5 separate regions of the Homo sapiens genome follow, and all the other regions are linked to region 1. Evidence: promoter capture Hi-C in 16 types of primary human blood cells and fetal thymus (Javierre and others, 2016). All regions are on one chromosome and are shown on one strand. Each heading gives the region's core, a stretch centred on a gene start or on the middle of the fragment in contact. The rest is flanking DNA. Distances are from core to core; before and after follow the strand shown.

Region 1 (2,846 bases), core at 216-2,715:
TTATTGCAAAATTTATTTACCATAACTTTACGCTTGTTTGCTACGTAAAACTATCTCATCATAAGGGAGCAGTTAATGAACTTGATTTTCAAGCAACTACAAGTGTCAAGCTTCTGTGACTAAGAAAACAGTGTAAAGTCTAAAACCTTATTATAATTTACAGCCTACATGGATCAGCATGATACAGATATGATCCTAGCACAAAGGTCTCTGCAAAAACTGGGGAGAGGGTGACTCCAATTCTCAAAGGATGTGAATTTCCACTAGTCAGCAGGTCTGAGTCAGCATTCAGAACAAGATCAGCCTGGGTCTAGTCCTAGTTACGACACTAGCTTGCCAATATAAAGACAAAGCAATATCTGATTTTAAAATCCACTGATCTGAGTTTGCTTTCATTTACCAAACGAGAGATCAGATGAGTCAACTCCTAGCTTGTTTTCCCCTGAGATGCGCTAAGGGTGATTCCAGTTCCAAAGCGGTAACCTGTGCTCTAAACCACTATGGGACCTCAAGAGTCCTAGCACCTTTTGATCCTATGGAATCCTTTCAAAGCACGGGCAGAGGCGGCTCAAAATGGCAAGGTCACTATACATTTCAAGGGCTTCTGTTTCAGAGATTACAAGTAGAGAAAAACAGAAGGTGGGAATTAAGATCAGCTAGGTAGAGCTGTGAGATGCAAAACAAAGGTTTTGCAGGAAGTTGAGGTGCTGACATACTCCATCTAGCTAAACTGAACACCAAATAATGGATGGAGACTAACACCACCAACACCATCGTCCCCGAAAATCCTTGTACAAGTGAGCTTCCTACAACGCGATGCAATATGCTGTCGCAGAACAAGCACTGCCAGGCTATGTAGCTGAACTTACCGTTCTCCAGGCGTCCATTTCCCCAACCTGTGAAAGGCGGGGAGGGGGTTGGACAAGATCACTAAGTCCTCTTCCGTTTCTGACACTTCACAGTCAGGGGTCCCGAGGTGAGGCCGAAATCCCAGTCTCCCGGGACGCAGAGGCCCTTGCGCGGTGCCATCCCCGCTGTCCCCCGGGCGCAGGCAGCTCCCGGCTCCTCCCCGCCCCTGCGGTTCCTGTGCACCAGGGAGGTGCCTCCCCAGCCCAGGGCGCGCCCGAATGAAGGGACAGCGCCTTCGCGGGAAAGGTCGCCCAGCAGCCGGACAAACACCCGCGGCAGGCGGGGGAGCCCGGAGCCGAGGAGGCTCAGAACTGATTCCGCCCGCGCCGCCTGGGTGGGGCCCGCAGGGACCGGGCCAGGGCAGCCGGAGCGCGCAGAAGACAGGGATGGGCCCCCAGGGCGGCAGCCTGCCCCAGCGGGCCCTTCAGCGCGTTTCCCCTCCCTCCAACCTCATGCGAAGAAAGCCCGGTGCTTCCCCACGCTCGTCCCACACTCACCCATCAGCGCCGGCGTCCCGCAGGACGGCTAGCGAGCCGGGGCCCGCGCAGGCGCAGACTGTGACCGACCCCGAGGTTGGGGCGCAGCGCGACGCGCTGGGCGCTGTTGGGGTCACGTGAGGGAGACACCGCCCCGCCCCGCCTCCCCTCCCTCGGCCCGCGGCCCGCCAGATGTCGCCAGCCTACTTCTCCTGGCCGCAGGCCGCCGCGGCGGGGCAGGTAGAGGGCCACGCCAGCACACCTGTCAGGATGCGGGCTCCGCTAGCCACCATGCTTCACCCTTGATGCCGTACGGTGGCCTCAGCGTGCCAGAAACAGCCAACGCGTTCTCTAGCGCGCTGCCTGCAGGGGGCGTCTGGGCATTGTCGGTTTTAGGGGCCTTGTCGGTTCTGCGGGGCGAGCGCCTTCGCGGAAAACTCCAAAGTACCCTCTGTGGAGCCTTGTTGAGTATCTTCAAACCTTCAGAGGGACCTTTTATCAGCGACCCATGCCGCAGTTTACAGAAGAACGCTTTGTGCGTGCTTTGGGACGTATGGATCACTTTTAAACTTTTTCCTTTGAAGCTCAGACAGCTTGCGGGGGGCTTGGGAGGAGCGCTGCCCGGGGAGTTAGAAGGCTTGGGTCAAAGTCATAGCCCTCATACTTCTTGAGAGTGACCTTGGGTGAGTCGCTGGACCCTGAGCCCCAAATCTCCGTCTGAAAAGTAACCCATGCCTTGTATGCGTCCTCGGGCTGTTGCAGGAGTCTTTGGAAATGATGGTTCTGACTCTGAGTTGGAAACTGGAACGCACACAACAGATGGGAGGCGTTGAAGGAAACAGAAAGGTCGGCCTGAGGGGAGAGGCGTTTCAGGAGGCTTGCGGATGTGTGAAGTGTGCGCACTGTGCTTGGGGCGAGCCCAAGCAGTAACCCCACCCGAGTGAAGCGTTCTTGGGGGGATCGGCTCCGGGTGGGCGACGTTCCCCGCGTGCCCCCTTCCCCCGAGAGCACTTTGTAGACACTGACTCCAAAAGCGGGTCTGGTCTCTGCCCAGCCCCACTTTGGCTGGCGTGCTTAGGTGCCTCTCGGGAAGCTGGAGACCACCCTCCCCCATTCCAGCAAACGCTCCATTGAGGAACCTACTGCGTGCCAGGTCCTGGGGAGCTTAGCGTCTGATGAAGGATACAACAACAAAAGACTGGAAATTCAGAAGCATGAGGGGACCTCCCCCCTCGAGGGAGAACCAGAGATGGCTTCACAGAGCAGACGTTTGAACTGGGCCTTGGAGGATGGATGAGTGGAATTTGGCCCAGTGGAGAAAGTCATAGCAGCAGGAGATAAGATTGTAAGGGTCAGGTGGTGGGGCTGGATAATGCGAATCTTGACTGTCAGACACAGACACCTGCCATCTAATTAGTACGCGAGGGATAAATTTTGGACTCCGCAGGATAAGGACAAGGC
Region 2 (2,846 bases), core at 144-2,643, 240 kb after region 1:
CAAAGTCAATCTTTTACATGAGAAAACTGGGGAGGGAGTGATTGAAAAGACTTAGGCGATACAGAGTGAAGACAGATGGGAGAACTGAATGAGTTAGACTCTAGGTAATGATGTGGGTTGCAGATATGAGGGAGGTGGGAAAGAATTTATGAGTCAGGATGGAAATTCCTGGGTAGCATAGAGAACATGGAGGGCTCAGGGTTCTCCACCTCTCAGCTTCCAAATGGAGCCCTCTGGGTGACCCGGACAGCAGTGGCTGGGTTTCAGAATGCCGACCTGGATGTTATCATTTCTGCCATGTGCTGCAGACTTGAAAACAGATTGGACCGAGGAAGGATTTTGCTTAAGCTTTGGGTGAGCAGTTACTGAGCACCGTCCCCTTCTTTATCCAGACAGCCATTTAGTTTCACCATTGTTAAACAATCTCTGTTATTTAATTTGATATCTAGATTCATTGGTATTATACTTTCTATTTCTTTTATTACTAATTTTCATAGATTTCTTTGATCACTTCATATATATATGTATACACATATGTATATATATACACACGTGTATATATATATACATGTGTAGTATCGATTCCTACTATTTTATTACTGTTCATACCTTCATTTCTGTGTGTGTGTGTGTGTGTGTGTCTGTGTGTGTGTATATTCACCTCTTTTGGGGGGAATTGACTGTTCATATTCATTTTTCTTTCTTTTGGATATTATTTTATTCATTTTCAAGTAATCTTTATATATTAAAGTTATAAGATTGTCATATTTTTCACAACATTATTTTTAATTTATTTGCGTTTAATTTTGTTTGTTTCTTTCACTTTTTTTATTTTTCTTTTGAGATGGAGTCTCACTCTATCACCCAGGCTGGAGTGCAGTGGTGCAATCTCGGCTCACTGCAACCTCTGCCTCCCAGGTTCAAGTGATTCTCCTGCCTCAGCCCCACCACGCCCCACCATGCCTGGCTAATTTTTGTATTTTTAGTAGAGACGGAGTTTCACCACTTTGGCCAGGCTGGTCTCGAACTCCTGATCTCAAGTGATCTGCCTGCCTTGGCTTCCCAAAGTGCTGGGATTACAGGCTTGAGCCAATGCACCTGGCATCACTTTTTGTTACTGAAATGCACAATCGAGCTTGTCTAATCTGTGGCCCACGGGCTGCATGCAGCTCAGGACAGCTTTGAATGTGGCCCAACACAAATTCCTGAACATTCTTAAAATATTATGAGATTTTGTTTGTTTGTTTTTAGCTCATCAGCTTTTGTTAGTGTTAGTGATGGCGGTGGTGGCCTGGCTGCTGCCATGATACTGGCTGCAGTGGGGGCGGGGTAGCCAGGGCTGCCCGCTCCACAGAGCCAGTGAGAGCTGGGAACAGGCAGAAGCCCTGCCCGCTTCCAAGTTGGAGGTGTGAGAGCCCCACCCTACTGGGGCAGCTGGAGCTGCCCAGCCATGGCTGCAGACCCAGGCCTCTCTGCACTCTAGGGGCCCAGGAAGTCCCCTGTCCCTGAAGGCTCTGAAGTTACTGCTCCTGCTGCCTGGCCTCTCCCACTCCCAGCATCCACTCCAATTTTGGAGCAAAGTTGTGGCTGAGCCCAGGTGCTGTCATGACCCAGCTGGGTGTGTGCACACTTAGGGCAGTGCTAACACGCCAGCTCCCTGCTGCTTCAGCCCCCTCCAGACTTTGAATGCAGATGAGCAGGGGAGAGAGGCCAAGGCAGGGATAAGGGTGGCTAGGGCATGTCTGCAGGCACCCCTCAGCATGAACAGCCTGAGCACTGTGGGCACCGTGGATGGCAGGTTAATGGCAGCAGGAGACAGACAGGCTCCTGGGCAGAAAGGGGCGTGTCCCTGATGAAACCCCCGCTTCAGGCCAGGGACAGCCTGGGGTCCAGGCTGCCAGTTCTGCCGACCACAGTGAGAACTTTTGGTGCTTTTTCTGGGTCTGCCCATGGCTGCCCATGGACCAATCAGCACATACTTCCTCCCCTCTGAGGCATGTAAAAACCCCAGACTCAGCCAGACTTGCACAGATGACCTGTCTGCAGAGAGGAGCTACCCACTGTGGGTCTTCTCTCTGCTGAGAGCTGGACACTTGTTGGGATGACCTGCCTGCAGACAGCTACCCACTGCGGGTCTCCTCTGAGCTGTTCTATCACTCAATAAAGCACTTCTTCACCTTGCTACCCTCCACTTGTCTGCATACCTCATTCTTTCTGGATGCAGGACAAGAACTTGGGACCTGCTGAGTGGCAGGGCTGAAAGAACTGTAACACAGACAGGACTGAAACATGTCCTTTGCTTGCCACATTGCGGAAGATGAGAGGGAGAGAAGAGAGAAGGAGAGAAGAGTTTCAGCCCTTTGGGGATCCCAGACCTACGAGCTCCTTGAGCCAGGGCTGTGACACCCTTTTTGGAGTTCTGCAGTTCTTGGAGTCTCCAAGCTTCCAGGCACCACCATGTTCCCCAGTGCCAGCCATAGAAACTGCTTGCAGTACGCCTGGTCCAGCTGTAGCCTCGCAGGGAACCGGCACCCATGCCAGTGCCTGGAGCTGCCTGCCCTGCCGCAGCTGGAGTGCCTGGCTGTGTGCAGCAGCCAGACCTCACGTTCACTCACTCACATACCCCTTATCACTCTGCACCTGAATTGCCCTTGGCAGGCGTGGGATCCAGGCTTTTCGTGCAAGGTGAGCAAAGCCTGCCAGGCCAAGTGGGCAGAACGAGCCCAGTGGGCCCAAGCAAAACTCAGGCAAAGGTGCCACAGAGGTTTCCAGCCAGAAAAGTGACACCCCAAGGATCCTGTGACAATAGTGTATTTTATGTGTGGCCCCAGACAATTATTCTTCCA
Region 3 (2,846 bases), core at 247-2,746, 220 kb after region 1:
AGACAAGGTCTTGCTCTGTCACTCAGGCTGGAGTGCAGTGGCACAATCATGGCTCACTGCAGCCTCAAACACCTGGGCTCCAGCAATCCTCCTGCCTCGGCCTCCCAAGTAACTGGGACTATAGGTGTGTGCCACCATGCCTGGCTAATTAAAAAATTTTTTTTGTAAAGACAGGGTTTCACTATGCTGCCCAGGCTGGTCTTGAACTCCTGAGCTCAAGAGATCCTCCTGCCTTGGCCTCCCAAAGTGCTGGGATTGCAGACATGAGCCACTGTACCCAGCCTGCAGTTTTCTAATGACTAATAACATTGAGTAATTTTTATGTGCTTATTGGCAATTTATATATCTTCTTTGGAGAAATGTCTATTTCTTCACATCCTTTGTCCACTTTGTAACTGGGGTATTTGTTTTTTATTGTTTAGTTTTTAAAGCTTCTTAAATATTATGAACCACTGTAGACCTGATTTGCAAAACATTTTTCCCCCATTTCATGGCTTTTTAACTTTCTTGATAGTGTCCTTTGAAGCACAAACATTTTTAAGTTTGCTGAAGTCCAGTTTGTCTGTTTTTCTTTCCAGGGTGTGTTTCCTGATACGTCCTCACAGGATTGATTTTTCTTTCTTTTTTTTCCTTTTTTCTTTTTTTTTTTTTTCGACATGGAGTCTTGCTCTGTCGCCCAGGCTGGAGTGCAGTGGTATGATCTGGGCTCACTGCAACCTTCACCTCCCGGGTTCAAGCAATTCTCGTGCCTCAGCCTCCCAAGTAGCTCCCATTAGGTGTGCATGGCTAATTTTTGTATTTTCAGTAGAGATGGGGTTTCACCATATTGGCCAGGCTGGTCTTGAACTCCTGACCTCAAGTGATCCACCTGCCTTGGCCCCCCAGAGTGCTGAGATTACAGGCGTGAGCCACTGCGCCTGGCCGGAATTGGTTGTTTTAACCTTGCCCCAACCAGACTGTCTTCTGCACTCTAACTGCCCCTTCTAAGTCTTCCAGGCAGCCTGGGCCCCTGAAACACTGGGATTCCTCATTACCCAAGGTTCTTCTGTGTTTCATGGTGATCACTACATCTTCACCACATAAGACACTTTGGATTGACTTCAAGACTCACCTTGACATTGGCTTGAACACTTTCTCCAACTTCGGCTCCTGTAACAAAGACTCTATTGATTCTCCCTCCACCTCTCTCTGCCCCTCTGTGACTCCACTCTGGACTCTTCATCTTGCTCAGGGTTTGCCGTACTCTCACTTTTCTCTCTCTCCTCTCTACTTTCCAGTGTTCACCTGGTTTGACTTCTTCAATGACCTCCTCTCTTTCGCTCCTTAGTGATGGAAGGCAACACAGTGAGACCGACCTGGGTTTGCAGCCTGGCTTGGAAATTTGCAAGCTGGGAACCTTGGACAAATTTATTTATAGCTCTGTTCCTTTGTTTCCTCATCTGTCCAGTAGGGGTAAGAATAATGTCTTCCAAAGGAGCTCTTGGGAGGCTAAAGGAGATATCATAAATACCCTGTGCCCATGATACGTGATAGAGTAAGGGCTCAAAGATATTCACCATCGGTGCCCCACTATCACTTCAAACTCAGCCTGTCCAAGCCAAGCTCATAATTTCACTCCAGGCTAGATCCTTCTGTCTTTTGCCCCCTTCATCCTGCTAGTGCCCTCACTTTGGGGTCACCTCCTACCAGGCCTTGTTCATTTACGATAATATCATCCCACGTGTGTCCCACATCGCCAGAGCTTGTCCATGCCCAGGCTCTTGCTTTCTTTCACCCTGGAGCCCCAGTCACCTGATCCTGCTAACTTTTGTTTCAAAATATCCCCTTCTCCCTCTTTTCTTTCCACCATCAGGGCCCCTGTCCTAGCTGTGTGCTCACTGGACTCTGAGTGGCGGAACAGCCCCTGATACCACCGTGGCCCACCTACCTCTGATCTCTGGCCTTTAGATTTGGCTCTCACAGGAGCTAGGAGTCCAGGCACCTTCCTGTGTTTTCTACAGCTCTGATTCTTTTTCCTGGCAAGTTGGGGCCACACACTAACCTGGCAAAATGTGGGAGAGGGAGCGAACTGTAGAATTTGGAGGTGGGAGCTCCTGATTGTAGACTAGGCTTGCCAGGGGATCCAGCAAGTCCTTTATGGTTTTTGGACCTTGATTTCCCCACCCGCACAGTGGAGATGAAGAATTTCTCAGTCTTGAAGGCCCCTGCCTCCTCTGATGTGTGGCGATTTATCACTTGTGGTCTCTTCCAATTACGAGGCTCATTCATGGGGCTTCTGAGAAGTCCCTTTTCGCTCTCTTCCTACCTTGACAGATTTGTCTTCTAAGGTGAGTTTCTCTTTTGCCGAGTCCTTCTCAGACCTCATTTCCTATCTCTGACTCACTCCGCTTGGCTTCTTCCCCTACCTTATAGCCTAGGGTGTGTGCGTTGATGTACAAATGTGTTCTGATAGTTGGCATAGCTTCTGCCTCTGTGTTCTCTTGGTCTTGCAGACAGTCTCTGCCTCCTGTCTCTCCTATTCCATCTCAGCCCCACACTGACAACAACCCATGGGATCTTTCTAAAGCTTAAATCTGAGCTTGTCACTCCCCTGCTGAAAAAACTTCGGTGGCTCTCTAAAGCCCCAGGATCAAGGTTATCTCCTTACCCTCCTTTTCAAACATCCCACACCCCTCTACAGTCTGGTCTCAACCTAACTGCTGTACTCATCTGCTCCTGAAGAGATGGGCCCCCGATTCCTTTGCTGATTCCATCCCTGTGCATGGAGTGTGCCCTCCTCTCACTTCTGTGTCCAGTGACATTCTGTGATGTCACCCACTGGGCCTCAGATCAGCTGTTACTTTCTT
Region 4 (2,846 bases), core at 111-2,610, 170 kb after region 1:
CTAGAGTGCAATGGGGTGATGTTGGCTCAACACAACCTCCGCCTCCTGGATTCAAGTGATTCCCCTGCCTCAGCCCCCGAGTAGCTGGGATTACAGGCATGCGCCACCATGCTGGGCTAATTTTGTATTTTTAGTAGAGATGGGGTTTCTCCATGTTGGTCAGGCTGGTCATGAACTCCCGGCCTCAGGTGATCCGCCCACCTTGGCCTCCCAAAGTGCTGGGATTACATGCGTGAGCCACCGCACCCGGCCTCATCTACTTCTTTTAGATAACATTATTCAGTTCTGTCCATTGAATGTTAACGTCAGTCCCCTGTCTGTGTACCAGGCCCTGTAGGATGCAGAGATGATCTGGACCACAGTCTCTCACCAATAATTATACAAGGCAAGATGAGAGAAGTGCAGGACAGAACAAGGGACAAAGAGCTATGGGGCTATAGGGAAGGGAGATTTTAATTATGGGGCGGGGCAGATCATAGTGGGTTCTTAGTAGAGGTGATATCTGGTCTGGGCTTTGAAGAGTGAGTAGCATTATGATATAGTAGAAGTAGACGAGAGAATTCCATGCGGAGAGAGAGAGAGCAACATCGTGAAAGGCATAGAAGCAGGAACATGTGGTAAACCACTTGGGCCATAGTGAGTTGTCAAGTGGAGTGGAGTAGCTGAGAATCTCTGAATGCATGGAATGGTGGGTAAGGGTAGAAAGGTAGGCTGTACCACATCAGGAAGAGTTTTCAATATCAAACTCAGGAGAATTTTTTATCTTGTAGGCAATAGGGAGCCATTGAAGGTCTTTGAGCAAGGAAATTAATTACCTTATGTTTTCTACATTTTATAAAGATTATTTGGGAAGCAGTGTGGAAGTTGTATTTCTTGGGGAGAGACAGAAAGTAGGCAGAGCAGTTAAAGGAATGTTAAGGAACCAGAAAATGGTGCAGAGAACAGTAGTTAATGCACAGAAGGCACTCAGTACTTTTGTTGAATGAATAAATAACGTTGAAGTAGTGAAAGGGTGTTAAGTCATTTTAGAGGACAGACTCTGCCTGACTCTCAAGTCTTTGCCTTTGGGCTACTTAGTGAGTGGTGACCAACCACTTCCCAGTGAAAGGTGATACTGCAGGAAGGAGAAGGTGGTTGACTTGGCATTAGCTACCTGTATAAACAGCTGTGAGGGTCAGGGCACAAGTCTGGACTGGAGGTGTAGATTTGGGAGTTATTAGAACTCAGTAAAGATCTAAAGCAAAAACTTCTGTCATCCATGACCCCTTAGTTCATTCCTACTTTACCCAGCCCGTCGGCAAAGTATATGCAGAATCTGGCCACTACTCACCCCCTCCACTGTTACCATCCTGGACCAAGACTCCTTCATCTCTTGCCTGGATTATTGTGGGAGTCTCTTATCCATCTTCCCTGCTTCCATCTCACCCCAGCAGCCAGTGATCCTGTTAAAAATGGGTGTGATTATGTCTTTCCTCTCTTCACATCCCCCCTGGAATCCTGATTTTCCTAACAGGAAATGCCAAAATTCTTACAGTAGCCCGTAAGGCCTTATATGACTTGGTCCCCTTAAACTCCTAACCTCCTGTTATGCTGTCCTCTCTCTCCTGCTGCAGCCAGGCTGCCTCTTTGCTGTTCTTTGAAGCCTCTAGGCACACTTGTGCCTTCCTTCAGGACTTTATTTAAATGTCACATGCTCAGTGAGGCCTCCCCTGGGCACAGTGTCTAGAACTGCGGTCCCTGCTCAACACTTGCCATCCCTCTTCCTCATTTTATTTTCCCGATAACTCTCTTCCTCATTTCACCTACTGTATATTTTACATATATTTCTTGTTTATTCTTTGTCTTGCCCCACAGCGGGAAAGAGATCTTTGCCCTTTTGTTCACTGCATACCTCCAGTGTCCAGAACAGTGCCTGTAGTCATAGTAGGCACATGATAACTATTTATTGAATGCATGAGTGGATGGAAGCAATTGATATCGTGGAGGGTGGAAGAGCAGAAGGTAACAGCTGGACATCTCCGTCCACTTCAGCTTGCTAGCCTTGGCCTGGAGGTAGGAGCATGTCAGACTTACTATGGTTTAAAATATATATATGTAAGATGTATAACATGATGTCTTGATATACATATACATAGTGAAATAATTTTTACGGTCAAATTAAGCAAGTTAACCTATCATCTCACATAGTGACCTTTTTGTGTGTGTGGTAATGAGAGGTGACAGCGTGCTGGCAGTCCTCGCAGCCCTCCCTCGCTCTCGGCGCCTCCTCTGCCTGGGCTCCCACTTTGGCGGCACTTGAGGAGCCCTTCAGCCCGCCGCTGCACTGTGGGAGCCCCTTCCTGGGTTGGCTGAGGCCAGAGCCGGCTCCGGCTCCCTCAGCTTGCGGGGAGGTGTGGAAGGAGAGGCGTGGGCGGGAACCGGGGCTGCGCGTGGCGCTTGCGGGCCAGCGCGAGTTCCGGGTGGGCGTGGGGTCAGCGGGCCCTGCACTCGGAGCAGCCAGCCGGCCCCGCCGACCCGGGCTTAGCACCTGGGCCAGCAGCTGCTGTGCTCGACTTCTCGCCGGGCCTTAGCTGCCTCCCCGCAGGGCAGGGCTCCCGACCTGCAGCCCGCCATGGCTGAGCCTCCCCCTGCGGCCGTAGGCTCCTGCGCCACCCTAGCCTCCCTGAGGAGTGCCGCCCCCTGCTCCACGGCGCCCAGTCCCATCGACCACCCAAGGGCTGAGGAGTGTGGGCACACGGCGTGGGACTGGCAGGCAGCTCCACCTGCAGCCCCGGGACAGGATCCACTGTGTGAAGCCAACTGGGCTCCTGAGTCTGGTGGGGAACCTTTATGTCTAGCTAAGGGAT
Region 5 (2,846 bases), core at 258-2,757, 130 kb before region 1:
CTTTTTTGAGGCAGTTAAGTTCAGAGGGTCAGTGAGCAGTGCATGACTTACAGATGTGCAGTTTTAACATATTATCTGTCCACCAACATTTAAACTGAAAAATAACTGGAAGATTTGTGAGATGTTTAGAACTTTTTGGTTGTTATTGGAGTTTGGCTTCTTCACAGAAATAAGCTAAGAACAACATTTCTTCAAGGAGAGTCATTTTATTATGAATCATTGTGCAAAGAACATAAACTAAATTGTAAGCTCTTCTAGGGCAACACCCAAATATCCTAATTTTGAATTCTGTACTTCAAAGTGATTATAAAGGAATAAGACTTTTTATAAAACAAACGTATCATATAGCTCATATATGCAAAGGAGTTTTATCCTTTCAAATAAGTCCCTGTATCGCTTAAAACATTTTTGGAAGTTCTATCTAAAATTTTGTTTCATGTGAGGCAGGTGTCAGCACCGAAAAGGTACTAGGTCCACTTCACACTATTCCACCTGGTTAGACCATACTCATGATGGCCAGTCAGTTATGGGACCGTAAACAAAATGATACTGGACTAGCTTAGAACAAGTTCAACTTGTCCTGAATGATGAAGGGACTTGAAATTCAAAGAAGAGTTGACAGAACTGAGGCTACAATCTGGAGACTAGAGGATTCCTAGGGGCATGATCACTGCCTTCAAGTTTCTGAATGGCCATCTTTTGGAAGGGCCATCTTACTTGCATGGTTTGGCCTTGGGGGAATAGACCTAGGATGAATGAGTGGAAGTCTCAAAGAAAACAGAATTTTGCTCAAGATCAAGAAGAATTTCCTATCAGCTGGTACTATCAAAACTGGAGTGGGTTGTCCCAGGATGCATGAACTCCCTGTCACAAGAGCTGTCCATTGAGTGGCCACATGGCCTCTTGGAGAAGTCATAGAGAACAGACAATGAATGGGTGGTTAGAGTGATACAGTTAACACTATTGAGACCCCTTCCAAGCCTTGGCATGTTAATTATCCCAGTAATCTGAACCTTTCTCTTTAATCCTGAAGTCTTAGGTAGAAAATCTTTCCTGTGCTTCTTACAAGGCAGCAAATGTAATCTGACTGAGTCATGACTCAGTCTGAGGGACTTCATGACTAAGGAACATCTTATAAAGGGACATCAGTTTCTGTACTCTGACACTAAATGGCCTCAAGTTGATGGACTTCTTGTGACTCCTTTTTGCAGTTTTCAGAGCCCGCCCTTTTATATTTTTGAGACAGGGTCTCCTCTGTCACCCAGGCTGGAGTGCAGTGGTGCAGTCACAGCTCATTGCAGCCTTGATATATGTCCCAGGCTCAAGTGATCATCCAACTTCAGCCTCCAGAGTAGCTGGGACTACAGGCACACACCAGCACACCCTGTTAATTTTTTTTTTGTTATTTGTAGAGACAGGATCTCCCTATGTTGCTCAGGCTGGTCTTGAACTCCTGGGCTCAAGCAGTCCTCTGGCCTTGGCCTCAAAGTGTTGTGTGAGGCACTTCACCTGGCCCCTTTCTTTTAATTGGGCTCTCTCTTCTCACACCCTAATGCCACTTGTTGCAGTGGTGCACCTGTCTTGAATCTTGTCTACCTTTTCCTCTAATTTGATGCTGCCTTTTGGCAATGAGCTGGAAGTTCCAGATATCCAGAATTGGGTCTTACTGAGTTAGGGCTCAGAATGTGCTCTGATTGATTAGACTGCTTGGGCCTTTTGATGCCTACTGTGGCTGCAGATGTGCCTCTTTTGCTTATTTCCCTCTTGGTTCTAAGTGGCAGTGAGTGGAGGACTGTGGATGAGTGACCCCCCAAAAAGTAAGATATTGTCACATAAGCTCTTGAGACAGTTAACTCATTATCTGCAGTTTCTTCCATTCCACAATAGGCTACTTATTTTTAATGCTGTATTACATTGAGAATATACTCATGTATAATTTTTATAAGAAAAATATTTAACTATATATTTACAGAAGGTGACATTTCAAAAGGCCCGGGAATACTCTGTCAAGACCGCACGCTTGCCAATCCAGGAATACATGGTCAGAAACCAGAATGGGAAAAACTATCATTCAGAGATACTGGCCATCAATCAAGGTACTTCTTACACGGCCCCCATCCAGGGTGTGTGAGTTCTGGTGCTGCTGCTTTGCACTGTGTTTAAGTGGCCTTTGAGTCAGTCTCCTCTGTGACTAATGTGTGTGGACTTTATTGCATGTACGTCATGACATATATTCTGGCCACTAAGAGGCATTCTGTTTTCTTCGTCACCAACTATGTTAAAGATAGTTGAAATTGTCCCCTTGGCCAGGTGCAGTGGCTCACACCTGTAATCCTGTAATCCACTTTCAGAGGCCGAGGTGGGTGGATCACCTGAGGTTAGGAGTTCGAAACCAGCCTGGCCAACATGGTGAAACCCCATCTCTACTAAAATACAAAAATCAGTCAGGCGTGGTGGTGCACGCCTGTAATACCAATTATTCCAGAGGCTGAGGCATGAGAACCACTTGAACCTGGGAAGTGGAGGTTGCAGTGAGCCGAGATCACACCACTGCACTCCAGCCTGGGTGACAGTGATACTCTGTCTCAAAAACAAAAAAAAAAGCTGGGCACGGTGGCTCACACCTGTAATCCCAGCACTTTGGGAGGCTGAGGTGGGCAGATCACCTGAGGTCGGGAGGTCGAGACCAGCCTGACCAACATGGAGAAACACCGTCTCTACTAAAAATACAAAAATTAGCAGGGCATAGTGGCAGGCGCCTGTAATCCCAGCTAATCTGGAGGCTGAGGCAAGAGAATTGCTTGAATCTGGGAGGTGCAGGTTGCGGTGAGCTGAGATCGTGCCAT

Evidence for each region. The method cuts DNA at HindIII sites, captures the fragments that hold promoters and counts their contacts. A CHiCAGO score of 5 or more calls a contact.
Region 2: a contact is called between a fragment that was not itself captured here and the fragment with the promoter of SLC25A51 in region 1, in 1 of 17 cell types (endothelial precursors). The highest score is 6.0, in endothelial precursors.
Region 3: a fragment that was not itself captured here is called in contact with the fragment with the promoter of SLC25A51 in region 1 in 2 of 17 cell types (endothelial precursors and M1 macrophages); the score reaches 7.9 in endothelial precursors.
Region 4: a contact is called between a fragment that was not itself captured here and the fragment with the promoter of SLC25A51 in region 1, in 15 of 17 cell types (monocytes, fetal thymus, M2 macrophages and 12 more). The highest score is 10.2, in monocytes.
Region 5: a contact is called between a fragment that was not itself captured here and the fragment with the promoter of SLC25A51 in region 1, in 1 of 17 cell types (neutrophils). The highest score is 6.2, in neutrophils.

What each region holds. Positions count from the first base shown.
Region 1 is chr9:37,902,662-37,905,507 of GRCh38, forward strand. SLC25A51 (solute carrier family 25 member 51) reads right to left here and starts at 1,466. Exons shown (of 3, transcript NM_033412.4): 1 at 1,407-1,466. It also overlaps the pseudogene PAICSP1. RefSeq lists a silencer at 907-1,666. The HindIII fragment of the contact is 4,581 bases long and covers 109-2,846 here.
Region 2 is chr9:38,144,459-38,147,304 of GRCh38, forward strand. No RefSeq gene overlaps it. Among named protein-coding and RNA genes, the nearest start is that of SHB, 77 kb to the left of the region's middle. The HindIII fragment of the contact is 2,094 bases long and covers 347-2,440 here.
Region 3 is chr9:38,123,682-38,126,527 of GRCh38, forward strand. No RefSeq gene overlaps it. Among named protein-coding and RNA genes, the nearest start is that of SHB, 56 kb to the left of the region's middle. The HindIII fragment of the contact is 2,135 bases long and covers 430-2,564 here.
Region 4 is chr9:38,072,980-38,075,825 of GRCh38, forward strand. It overlaps LOC105376039 (a long non-coding RNA gene), which reads right to left and starts at 1,660. Exons shown (of 4, transcript XR_007061483.1): 1 at 1,580-1,660; 2 at 1,331-1,442. The HindIII fragment of the contact is 4,390 bases long and covers 1-2,846 here.
Region 5 is chr9:37,774,310-37,777,155 of GRCh38, forward strand. It overlaps TRMT10B (tRNA methyltransferase 10B), which reads left to right. Exons shown (of 9, transcript NM_144964.4): 8 at 1,973-2,096. Among named protein-coding and RNA genes, the nearest start is that of EXOSC3, 9.3 kb to the right of the region's middle. The HindIII fragment of the contact is 5,813 bases long and covers 1-2,846 here.